Linked DNA regions of Homo sapiens: regions 1, 2 and 3 are each linked to region 4. The links are contacts of gene promoters, found by promoter capture Hi-C in human tissues and cell types (Jung and others, 2019). All regions are on one chromosome and are shown on one strand. The core of a region is centred on a gene start or on the middle of the fragment in contact, and the rest is flanking DNA. Distances in the headings are between cores, read along the strand shown.

Region 1 (2,991 bases), core at 114-2,613, 45 kb before region 4:
ACATACATACTACTATTAATCATTCTGTACCTCAATGCAGCAATCCATAAATAGGAGCTATACCTTAGTCTGGAATGTGAATAAAAGTTTTAAATATGTGTGCCTTACTTCAGGGCTTCATGCCAACTGTATGTGCAGCTCCTATGCCTGAGAGGTGTCATCAGCCAATTGTGGGTTCTTTACAGCAATAGTGTTTCAGGAACATTAGTTTCCAGTTTGTCTCTCTAGCAAGCTCTGTGTATCTAGAGAGCTGACCTAAGCAAGGAGTGGCAGGTAGTTTTTCAGGAGACAAATATTCTGATATTGCAAAGTGGATTAACTAACAATGGATCAAGGCAGAAGTCTGCCATAGGAGTAAGTTTCAAAGCACTGCAAGGCACTCTTAGCTTCCAAAACTGGTACAGGAGGCTGAGGTCTGCCTTTGGCTTGGCAGCCCTCTTGCCCCAGACTGACACAGTCTCAGGAAATTCAGGGACTGCCAGGAACTTACATAGCACCATCATTTGAGCCACGCAGGTTACCTTTAAGCTGAGTACACTTTGGTAAATCTTCAAAGGCTTTTGTTCTCAGTGCTACGAGAGTTTTCATCTCCAAGATTAGTTGAGCAATTGGAACCAAATGGATAAATATAAAACCATAGAAACCATAGACTGGCTAGAAATCAAATACTTCTCTCCTCTTCTAGCTGCTTTTCTCAGTTGTTTCAGAGAGATTTTTGTGCATGTGCAATTTGTCCTTCAGGATAAAGTTTTTAAAGTAAACCAGATCTGGACCATATTGTTTTTATTAGAGAAAAACTGTCTTTAAAGTTGTAATAAACAAAGACCATAAAGCAGAGAGGAAAAATAAAAAGATTAAAGTAATTTTAAACTGTAATTCTAAGTGGGTCCAGATATTTTCATCCCACAGGAAAATTAAGTGCTGAAGTGAAAATGACCTCAAACAACGATCTAGTGTTATGGAAATTGCACCAAAGAATCTGTTTGTGAGAAGACTGCATTTGCTGTAGTCTCTTTATACTGCTCCTCTCAAGAGACCAGGCCTGTTGATCCAGGGCTACAGAGACCCAGTCCCAGATTCTGCATGTCACTCTTTCATGGTCCACAGCCAAGGCCTCCAACACCCAGACGGGTGGTGGGAAGGACATCTGGATGTGTCTTGGAACTCTATTTTTGAGTCAGGGTCTCTCTGCATTGCCTAGGCTGGTAGTACAATCATGGCTCACTGCAGCCTGTAACTTCTGGGCTTAAACGAGCCTCTAGCCTGAGCCTCTCAAGTAACTGGTACTATAGGTGTAGACCACCATGTCTGGCTAAATTTTTAAATTTTTTTGTAGAGATGGGGTCTTGCTATGTTGCCCAGGCCTATGTTACACCTGGAACTCTTGACACAGTCCTGAGACCTGATGTGTCTTAATTTGCTCCACTCAGAGGTGACGGTCCAGGCTGGAAGAATGAGATATACGATATACTGGCTTGATGAAAGTTTGGTTGGTGAATTGTCTTTCTAAAATGTTGCAAGGCATGACCTGGGATAAAATAAGGCTGGACCAAGGAAAACCAAGTGGTTCAGTCTGGACTTGCCCAGGAAGCCCATCTCAGGTCTGAGTCAGTGTGAACTGAGAGGTCAGATACACTCTAGGGGTGACCTGAGCGTGTGTCTCCATAAAGATTAGTTTACCAGGTCCTGGGTCAGCTTGGAAATATATGGATGGAGCTTTCTCAGAATTGAGCCCCAAAGTATGTTAAAATGTCCCAGCCTAGGCAATCCCGGCACTTTGGGAGGCTGATGTGGGCAGATCACGAGGTCAGGAGATCGAGACCATCTTGGCCACCATGGTGAAACCCCATGTCTACTAAAAATACAGAAAATTAGCTGGGCGTGGTGGCACACACCTGCAGTCCCAGCTACTCGGGAGGCTGAGGCATGAGAATCACTTGAACCTGGGAGGTGGAGGTTGCATGAGCCGAGGTTGCGCCATTGCACTCCAGCCTGGGCCACAGGGCGAGACTCCATCTTAAAAAAAAGTCCCAGACTCCCTTCTGCTTCTCTAGATTAGACCAAGAATGGATCCTCAAGCAAGACCAAACTCCCAAGATTGTCCTTGAATGAAGTGTGGGAACAGGCTCACATTTTTGTCCAGTGTTGACCCATACGGCTTTTTCCAGGAGAGCTTATTTAATTCATGGCCAGTTAGAGAGCAGTCCTTTGAAAACATGGTTTGGGGAGGATGATTGAGACATCCTAGCAAGTGAGCCTCATTACAAATAGGCTGGTGACTCAACTCTTCTAAAAATATAATGATCTATATGAAAATGCTATAAATCCTACAGTATCTCATCCCAAGGGAGTAATAAAGAACTGATTTAAGCTTGATAAAAAAAAAAGTGTGAGTGTTTATAGGCAGGTGGTAAGAGGTTTGGTTACCTCAGATATGCCCGACAGGCTACGCTCAAATGCATTATAACTGCTAGTACGTTGCTGGACCTCATTGTAGGCACAATAAACTCTGCAATGGGCTTTAATGTGGGAGAAAAGCAATGATGGCTCTTGTCCCCCATACCAGTTCACTATCATGAAAACTTCAGATCTCTGAGCCTGGTCATTTTTCTTCAAGTGCAAAGCCTGACCTACCTCTCTCTGGAGATTGATGTCTGCTCCTTGCAGAACCAGTTCCCTCACACAGTCTATGTGGCCAGCGTAGGCAGCAACCATCAGGAGTGTGGTGCCATGCTGGATGGAGGAGAGACAGATGAAGAGTTAGGCCACTGCTATGTCAGAGAGAAGGGTCCTAGAGAAGATGCTGCAGAGATGTCAGCTCCACTCAGAACACATCCAAGGGCAAAATTCCCTGCAGTGATAAAAGTGGTCATGAATAATCTCATCATGCAGCCTAGATGGGAAAAAGCAAAGTGACAAATTGCTGAGGTTGGAATTTTCGATGTAAAAATTCACTTACTTCCATTACCTTCAGAAGCACAGTCCAAATGA
Region 2 (3,051 bases), core at 283-2,782, 35 kb after region 4:
TGCATTAAAAAAATTTCTATCTTTGACATGAAACTACTACTCTGAATTTATCCAAAGGAATTCATGAGATAAATGCTCTAATGTCTGATGCAAGATACTCACCAAAGCATTATAAAAATAGCATCCAGTGGGAAACAATCTCATGTCCAATAAAAGGGGACTGACTCAGTTAGTGGATTAATAGGCACCACATGATGCCATAGAATGGTCTTTATCGACACAACATGTGTCTGTGCTATATGGTGAAGAAACAGACCAAAACTATATGTAAACTAGCTAGACTGTATGGAATGATCACATTTAGTAGGAAAAAAAAAATGTGCCTATATAAGCAAAGAACAAAGTCTGGAAAGAGATACTTGAACATGCTAAGAGTGCTTCTCGGTGGATGGGGAGATCAGTGATTTTTACTTTCTTCTGTAAATCTCACAGTGTATGTCAGCTTGCTGGCTCTGGGTTTTTACCTAGGTAAACATCTCACTCCACAGCTTCCTGGCTGTGTGTAATTGGATGGTCTAACGAATGTCTCGGGGTCAGTATCTTCATCTGAAATCCAGGGATAAATCTAGTACCAACCTAGGAGGGTTCTTGTGAGAAATTAATCAGATAATACAGAAAAAGCTCTCAGAATAGTGCCTTACATGCTGTAAGAACTAAATCCATGTTACCTATACTATCTGTATTTTTTTTAAAATTTTTATTTCTATAGGTTTTTGGGGAACAGGTGGTGTTTGGTTACATTAGTAAGTTCTTTAGGGGTGATCTGTCAGATTTTGGTGCACCCGTCACCCAAGCAGTATACACTGCACCCAATTTGTAGACTTTTATCCTTCATCCCCCTCCCACCCTTTAACCCAAGTCCCCAAAGTCCATTGAGTAATTCTTATGCCTTTGCATCCTCATAGCTTAGCTCTCACATATGAACGAGAACATACGATATTTGGTTTTCCATTCCTAAGTTACTTCACTTAGAATAATAGTCTCCAATCCCATCCAGGTTGCTACGAATGCTATTAATTCATTCCTTTTTATGGCTGAGTAATAGTCAATGGTATGTACGTATACATCTTTATTTTCTACAATGAGCATGTATTACTTTTAGAATTAGAAAATCAATAAAGCCATTTTCTCTTTGGAGAAAATAAAAGGGTTCTATAGAAAGAGGATAAAAGGAACAATGATTTCTGGTAGAATCTGAGTTATCAATGAAAAAGCTTCCTTGGAGTTTTCCTGATGTCCTCTGTCTCCCCAGTATGAACTATTTCCTGATGCCCTCCATGCCCTATCTCACCCCCTGCCACCCCGTCCCCCTGATATGAGCTTCTGACTGTTTTGTCTCAGAATGAGGCTGGTTTGCTAGAGATCTTTCAATGCCAACAGAATCAGAAAAATACTCAGTAAATGGAAATTGATTTTTTAAAAAAGAGCATATTTCATTCCTTAGCTAATCTTGAAAACTATTTTATATGCTTCTTCCCTTGTGGAACTTTTGCAATTTCAAGCACACTTGGGCTTTAAATCATGGCCATTTTCCTATTACTATTAATGGCAAGCATATATAAGGAAAAACTGAATTTCATGAATTCTTCATGACAGTTCACGGAAGCTTGAGTTAAATGTGGCGTCTCAGGGGAGTCACTGTGCCTGGCACCTCTTCTCTGCCTGCTGTCCTCAGGGCACCTGCCCAGCCCCCACAGAGCCCTTGCTCCTTCTCATATCTGTGACCCTGCAGCCTTCCTGCACCACCAAATGGTCTTCCTTCACTCTTTCCTTCCTGATGCTTCTTTTTTCTCTATTCCTGTTTCTGTGATTCCCCTCTCTCTCTTTTTCACTTTTTACTCCCATCGCATTTCCTTACTTTAGGAAAAAACAAGAACCAAACCAAACCACCTTTTCTAAGTATAACAGTATAACTCACCATTCTTTTTTTTTTTTTGAGACAGAGTCTTGCTTTGTCACCCAGGCTAGAGTGCAGTGGCACGATCTCGGTTCACTGCAGCCTCCGCCTCCCAGGTTCCAGTGATTCTCCTGCCAAAGCCTCCTGAGTAGCTAGGATTATAGGTATGGGCCACCACGCCCAGCTAATCTTTTGTATTTTTAGTAGAGACGGGGTTCCACCGTGTTGGTCAGGCTGGTCTTGAACTCCTGACCTCAGGCAATCCACCTGCCTCGGCTTCCCAAAGTGTTGGGATTACAGGCATGAGCCACCGCGCCCGGCCTAACCCACCATTCTTTTCTGGTGGTCACTGCCAGCCTTGAGGAGGGTGCCATGCTGTGTCCTTGGCAGAGTGGTGGCCTGCTGAGTCACTGGGGGTGTGTGTGCAGAGAGGGGAGTGGAGGTGGGTGGGGAGTGAGCTAAGGAGGTCTGGGGCTCCCCATAAGGGGGGCTCCAGCAAGACCAAGCTCTTTGCCTGTCTAGTACAGTTGTACTGGGTCCCCAGGCGGCCTCAGGGCACAGACAATGTGACCATCCTGCCTCCCCAGGACTTGCGCAGCTCACTCTAGACCAGAGGGGCCAGGTTTTGTCTCCTCCACCTGGCAGCTTCTGCTGCTCTTCCTCACAAGGTTCCCTTTGGTCTTGTAGCCTCCAGATAAGGGTGCTTTATGTGCCTGTGTCTCTCTCATTTGAGAGCAAACTTCTGAGCTGTTGCACTTCTCTCTTTAATTCTTAAACCACAAATGCAAACATTCTATGGCTTAGGAATTCCAGATTCAGCGCACCATGCATGACATACTCTGTTCCATAGGTTTTAAGCACTTTGAGTGATAAAATTGTATGTTTACCTTTATCACTCCTCAGCATCACAGAGTAACCAGCATAACCAGCATGGAACATTCAGTTCTTTCCCCTCCCTTCACAGTCATCCTTGCTGGGCAGACTCTCACCATCCCTTGAGCCACCTCCTACACCAAGTATCCTGGGAGCTCCCAAAGAGATGGGGAGGGTGAGTGGGGCAAGGAAGCCCAGAGCCGGGAAATGCAGCACCCCTCCCCTCTTTGGAATCAGTTTAAATTGCCATCCAGGTGGGCCCAGGCAGCTGAAATCCAGGT
Region 3 (2,943 bases), core at 214-2,713, 54 kb after region 4:
AGGAGGTGGAAGTTGCAGTGAGCCGAGATCGTGCCATGGCACTCCAGCCTGGGCGACAGAGTGAAACTCTGACTCAAAACAAACAAACAAGAATGCTCCATCTGAGTCAAATTATGATAAAATAAGCAGACAAATTCAGACTGTGGGACGTTCTGTGATTCTGTGACCAATTCTATGATGGAACATTAAGACTTAGAACAGACTGTGGGACATTTTGGACTGTTCAAAATGTCAGTGTCAGGAAGGACAAAACATGTTGGGGGACTGCTGTGGATTAAAGGGGACAAAAGAGACCTGACGACTCACTGCCGTATGTAATCCTTGATTAAATCCCGAGATGGGAAAATAATACAATGGGGATTATTGAGAGGATCAGGGAAATTTGAATATGGACAATGTATTAAATACAATTTTGAATATATGGTAAAATTTCTTAGACATGAAAATGTTGAATTTATATAGAAGAAATATCCATAAAATTTCTTAGACATGAAAATGTTGAATTTATATAGAAGAAATATCCATGTTCTTGGAAGATAACATGCTGAAGTATTTAGGAGGAAAGTATTATGATGTCTGTAACTTCCTTTCAAAGAATCAAAAATGTGTGTGTGTGTGTGTGTGTGTGTGTGTAGAGAACAAAAAATATGGTATATTGTTAATAGTTGGTGAATCTAGGTGAAAAGCATGTGAGTATTCATTGTATTGTTCTTTGAGCTGTCCTGTAGGTTTACAAATTATGCAAAATAAAAAGTTGGGAGAAGTAAATTATGAAATGCTACCTTGTGGAATAGTATGTTTATTAAATTATAAAGCTATTGACAGACTGATCTCACTTTTATTATAAACTTAGAGTTTTCTGGCACAGGGAGTACTATTTAGTTGAGTAGGAAGCTTATTTTGTATGTGACTTTAAGTGTACTTGCACAGTATTTTGCACTTTCACAATCCCGTCTGTTAGTTTAATTTCAATTCAACAACATGTATTAAGCCTCTTTTCTGAGGATATAGGAGTGATTAAGACCAAAGATGGTGCAGCCTAGTGGGAATGACAGATGAAAACAGGTACCGCAGTGCATGACAGGTGCTCTTTTAGAAGGAGAATATCAAATTTGTATGAAGTAGATATTATTCTTCATTTTCTTAAATATCTTTTTTGATCATTTTATGAGCAAATAAATGAAATCTCAGAGTAGGTAAGTCATGTACTTGGAGTCACATAGCCAGTGGGTGACAGGGCAGAGATATCCCCCCCAGGGGAGTTGATTCTACTACAACTTAGCTTAGACACCAGGGTAGGACCACTTCGGGGTTCAGCTCTGTCTCTGTGTTTGCCAAATGGTACCTGCCCCTTGAACTCAGTAGCAGCTACACAGCTTTACTATCCATCCATCCATCCATCCACTCATTTATTCATTCATAGCATGTATTGAACACCTATTACATGCAGTCAGTCCAGGAAGGCCCTGAAATGAATAGAGGACAGGCTGTACCAATCTATAATTTCAGAGGCTTCAGAGCATGCAGCACTGGGGTGAGAAACAAGGATCAGAGGACACCCTCTTGTCTTCCCTACTCACCCTGAAGTCTTTTGAAGTTGAAGTGCCTCACACTCCCCCTTTTATGATCATTATCTGCTTTATTAAAACATTATTTAAAAGACTACTTTGTTTCTCTACCTAAACAATCACCAACACACTTCAAGCTATCTTTAGCTTATTACAAAAGCACGTGGAGAGATTACAACTCAGTCCCTCTCCATCATTTCTCCCCTTATCTCTGACCCCCAAATACGATCTCTTTGAAAATGCACAACTTTGCCTTTCTACCTACAGTGGCTCCATAGCTTGGTGCTTTCTAGTCTCACAGAGGGTCCTCGTTTATATCAGCAAATCTCTAGCAGCACTCATGTGTGCTTTGAAGTATTTTCAGTGGCCAAAGAGTAAACATAAGTACTGAGAGTAAAAAAGGAATGTAGCAGAAGGAGTGATTCAACAAGCATATAATTTAAAATTACCAACCAAAACAGAATAAATCCCTACCTGTTGGCTTAACATGCCTGAACCTGGCTGTGAACATAATTATGAGACCACTCACTCTGCCTCACTATGACATTTTGAATCTGCAAGTGTCAGAGGAGATTTGCTGCAGAGCTGGAGACCTTGGCAAGATTCCAGGGCATGTTACACAGCAGGGGTGGTGATAAATAACACATATAGTCGCTTGGTGCAAATGGGATCCAAACCAAAGAGATACACCCTACCAATATTCAGAGCACATAAACATACATTGGGGAACCTCAGAAATAATTCCTGAGACAAAAATGGGAGGGAAACATTGAAAAGTGGCATGTTCTAGCTAATTAGTGCTGGAAGATGAGTTGGTGCCATCAGTGGACTTATTAAGTTAGGCCTGGGTGGCAGGATACTGTAACAGGCAGAGGGGCACATCAATTGCTGCTAGAGTTGGGATTTTTAAGTGTCATAATGCTTCAAAAGAATCTGGCCGGGCACGGTGGCTCATACCTGTAATCCCAGCACTTTGGGAGGCTGAGGCAAGTGGATCACGAGGTCAGGAGATCGAGACCATCCTGGCTAACACGGTGAAACCCCGTCTCTACTAAAAATACAAAAAAATTAGCCGGGCGTGGTGGCAGGTGCCTGTGGTCCCAGCTACTCAGGAGGCTGAGGCAGGAGAATGGCGTGAACCTGGGAGGCGGAGCTTGCAGTGAGCCAAGATCGCACCACTGCACTCCAGCCTGGGCGACAGAGCAAGACTCTGTCTCAAAAAAAAAAAAAAAAAAAAAAAAAATCAAACGTTACCTAGAAACAAGATGAAACTTGTGGATTAAAGGGGACAAAAGAGACCTGACGACTCACTGCCATATGTAATCCTTGATTAAATTCCGAAATGGGAAAATAATACAATGGGGATTATTGAGAG
Region 4 (2,969 bases), core at 217-2,716:
AGGTGATCCACCCACCTCGGCCTCCCAAAGTACTAGGATTACAGGCATGAGCCACCGTGCCCGGCCCAATTTATATTTTTCTTTTGTTGCTTGCGCTTTTGATATCATAGCTAAGACAGCATTGCTAATCCAAAGTCATGAAGATTTTCTCCTGTGTTTTTCCCTTAGAATTTTATAGTTTTAGCTTTATAGTTTAGCTCTCTAAATGTAAAATTTAGAGATCTTAAATCCATTTTGAGTTAATTTTTGCATATAGTATGAGGTGGGGATCCTACTAGATTATTTTGGGATGTCCAGTTTTCCCAGCAGCGTTTATTAAAAATATTATTCTTTTCCCATTGAATAGTCTTGGCACCCTGTTGAAAATCCAGTGACCATAAATGTAACGGTTTATTTCTGAGCTCTCAATTCTATTCCATTGATCTATGTTTATCGTTATGTCGGTACTACACTGTCTTGATTACTGTAGTTTTGTATTAAGTTTTAAAACTAGGAAGCGTGAGTCCACTGACTTCATTCTTTCTCAGAATCGTTTTGGATTTTCTAGGTCTCTTGCATTTCCACATGAATTTTAGGATCAGCTTGTCAATTTCTGAAAAAAAAAAAAGTCGGGATTTTGATCCCTATCAAAATCCATTGTGTTGAATTGTAGGTTGCTTTAGGAAATATTGCCATCTTCACAATATTGTCTCCTAATCCATGAACATGGGAGGCTTTTCCACTCATTTAGGTCTTTTAACATTTCTTTCAAAGAGGTTTTGCAATTTTTATTGTACAAATATTGCATTCCTCTAATTTCTTCGAGGGCCTATGTGGGTTCTGTTTTAGTAGGGTGTTCTGCATATAAGACCAAGCATCAGTCCGGGGTCGTGGGGGGAGGGGGTCTTCTCTGTTCTGAGGCCATCATGGCAGGTGGCGTACCTCACTCAATCTCTGTTAGCTTATTTGTAAAATTGAGCAGATTAGGCATCTAAAGGATTTCCTCTAAGGTTCCTTTCCAGGTTGGCAAATTACAACTTGCATTATTGGCTGTCTTTTAAATATGTACGTTCCACCACTCCCAGTTCCCTGGCTCAGCCTGTGGCTGCAGTGCCACAGGGATCCTAGGTGCACAGTGTTGAGGAGTTGACGACTCAACACTTGGCTGGGAAATCGAAATGTCTTTGATGTGAGTTCTGTAGGTAGTGGCAGTTTCCTCTGCTCTCAACCAAATTCGTTTACAAGCCTCCTTTACTCTTAGGTCACAGGTGGCTTTTCTGGCTTTGACCTGAGCGGTGAGTATCCAGAGAGGAGAACGATCTAATTAATTTCTGTCCTGGCGCCTGGAGGGTTCGAAGATCCCAGGCTCCCGTTCCCGCCGCCTGGGTGGGAGCCCGGGAACGCCTCTCCCATTCCCCGCCCGCGAAGTTTGCAGCGCGCCTCGCGCGGGAGAGACGCCGTCTGCTGGCGCGCGGCTGAGCGCTGTCAGTTCCTGATCCGGCTGGTGCCCGCTCCAGCCGCGGCAGGTTCCAGAGCTGAGAGGCCACCCCCACGCCGCGGGCTTCCAGCGCGTGGAGCAAGGGGAGCGGCCCCGGCGCCGCCCATATCCCCGGCTGCGCTAGTCCTGGCGCTGCAGGTCCGGGAGGCGCAGGCGGAGAGCGGCGGTGCCCCCGAGCCCCTCTGCGGACGGCTCAGGCGGGAGGACCCCGCGCGGCTGGATGGCGGCGGCCGCGCGGCCTCGGGGTCGGGCACTGGGGCCAGTACTGCCGCCGACGCCGCTGCTCCTGCTGGTACTGCGGGTGCTGCCAGCCTGCGGGGCGACCGCTCGGGATCCCGGGGCCGCGGCCGGGCTCAGCCTTCACCCGACTTACTTCAACCTGGCCGAGGCGGCGAGGATTTGGGCCACCGCCACCTGCGGGGAGAGGGGACCCGGCGAGGGGAGGCCCCAGCCCGAGCTCTACTGCAAGTTGGTCGGGGGCCCCACCGCCCCAGGCAGCGGCCACACCATCCAGGTGAGGGCCTCGGAGAGAGCCGGGGTGGGCGCGCCTTTTCCTTCCCGCGCCGGCCAGACACCCGGAGAAGGGATCGGGCCCTTTCCTCACGCGCGCTAGTGGCTCCGGGCGACTGGGAAGGGCAGCCCCCATCCCCGCGCGCGAGGGCCCACGACCCAGGAGCGATCTCGTGGAAGCACCGCACCGGCACCACCGGCCCGAGGCGAGGAGGGGGAGCACGCGAGGTGACATGAGGCTGTGGTCAGGTTCGGGCTGGTGGAGGGGAAAGTGTGAGGCTGCGCTCTAAGAGATGCAGGCGCCTCGGCCCTTCCCGCCTCCGTCACCCACGGAGCGTCCCGCCAGGCTTGAGTCCTCGAGGGTTCAGGGGCGCCTCCTGCCCCACCTCCCGGGCCTTATTCGGAGAAGTCGGTGGCAATTACCTTCTGTGGTGTATTTTAAGAGAGAATTTTTAGGTTATAACAGCGGTATCACTCTAATGTTACTGAAAAGATTCACTTCACTGCACTGCCTGAAGTGCCACCATCCAGTCATTGGGGGCGAATGAGACCTTAGGCGGACAGAGATAGAAAGGCTCTCAGAGATCCGAGCCTCACCGCGAACACCCGGGGCAAACGACATTGCGGTGCATGTTAAGCAGCATCTTGCAGTGCCTGGCCCTTACTCACAGGTCTCAGCCAGGCAAGAGTGCAGTGGTGCGATCACGGCTCACGGCAGCCTCGAACTCCTGGGCTCAAGGGATCCTCCCGCCTCAGCCTTGGGCGTAGCTGGGACTACAGGCGTGCCCCCCCGTGCCTGGCAATTTTTTTTTTTTTTTTTTGAGACAGAGTCTCGCACTGTCGCCGGGGCTGAAATGCAATGGTGCGATCTCGGCTCACTGCAACCTCAGGCCTGGCAATTATTTATTTATTTATTTATTTATTTATTTATTTATTTATTTATTTATTTTTCTGTAGAGACAGAGTCTGGCTATTTTGCCCA

Evidence for each region. Contacts are between HindIII fragments. The study calls those that stand out against the background at their distance.
Region 1: a fragment that was not itself captured here is called in contact with the fragment with the promoter of LAMA3 in region 4 in 2 of the 25 tissues and cell types used here (IMR-90 fibroblasts and aorta).
Region 2: a contact is called between a fragment that was not itself captured here and the fragment with the promoter of LAMA3 in region 4, in 1 of the 25 tissues and cell types used here (IMR-90 fibroblasts).
Region 3: a fragment that was not itself captured here is called in contact with the fragment with the promoter of LAMA3 in region 4 in 2 of the 25 tissues and cell types used here (IMR-90 fibroblasts and mesendoderm cells).

What each region holds. Positions count from the first base shown.
Region 1 is chr18:23,643,555-23,646,545 of GRCh38, forward strand. It overlaps ANKRD29 (ankyrin repeat domain 29), which reads right to left. Exons shown (of 10, transcript NM_173505.4): 3 at 2,635-2,733. Among named protein-coding and RNA genes, the nearest start is that of ANKRD29, 18 kb to the right of the region's middle. The HindIII fragment of the contact is 7,883 bases long and covers 1-2,991 here.
Region 2 is chr18:23,723,192-23,726,242 of GRCh38, forward strand. The region is part of intron 2 of LAMA3 (laminin subunit alpha 3); the gene reads left to right. Among named protein-coding and RNA genes, the nearest start is that of LAMA3, 35 kb to the left of the region's middle. RefSeq lists an enhancer at 2,766-3,051. The HindIII fragment of the contact is 5,076 bases long and covers 1-3,051 here.
Region 3 is chr18:23,742,047-23,744,989 of GRCh38, forward strand. All of the region lies in intron 2 of LAMA3 (laminin subunit alpha 3), which reads left to right. Among named protein-coding and RNA genes, the nearest start is that of LAMA3, 54 kb to the left of the region's middle. The HindIII fragment of the contact is 7,323 bases long and covers 1-2,943 here.
Region 4 is chr18:23,687,987-23,690,955 of GRCh38, forward strand. LAMA3 (laminin subunit alpha 3) reads left to right here and starts at 1,467. Exons shown (of 75, transcript NM_198129.4): 1 at 1,467-1,991. The coding sequence starts at 1,698. RefSeq lists an enhancer at 826-1,375. The HindIII fragment of the contact is 10,376 bases long and covers 1-2,969 here.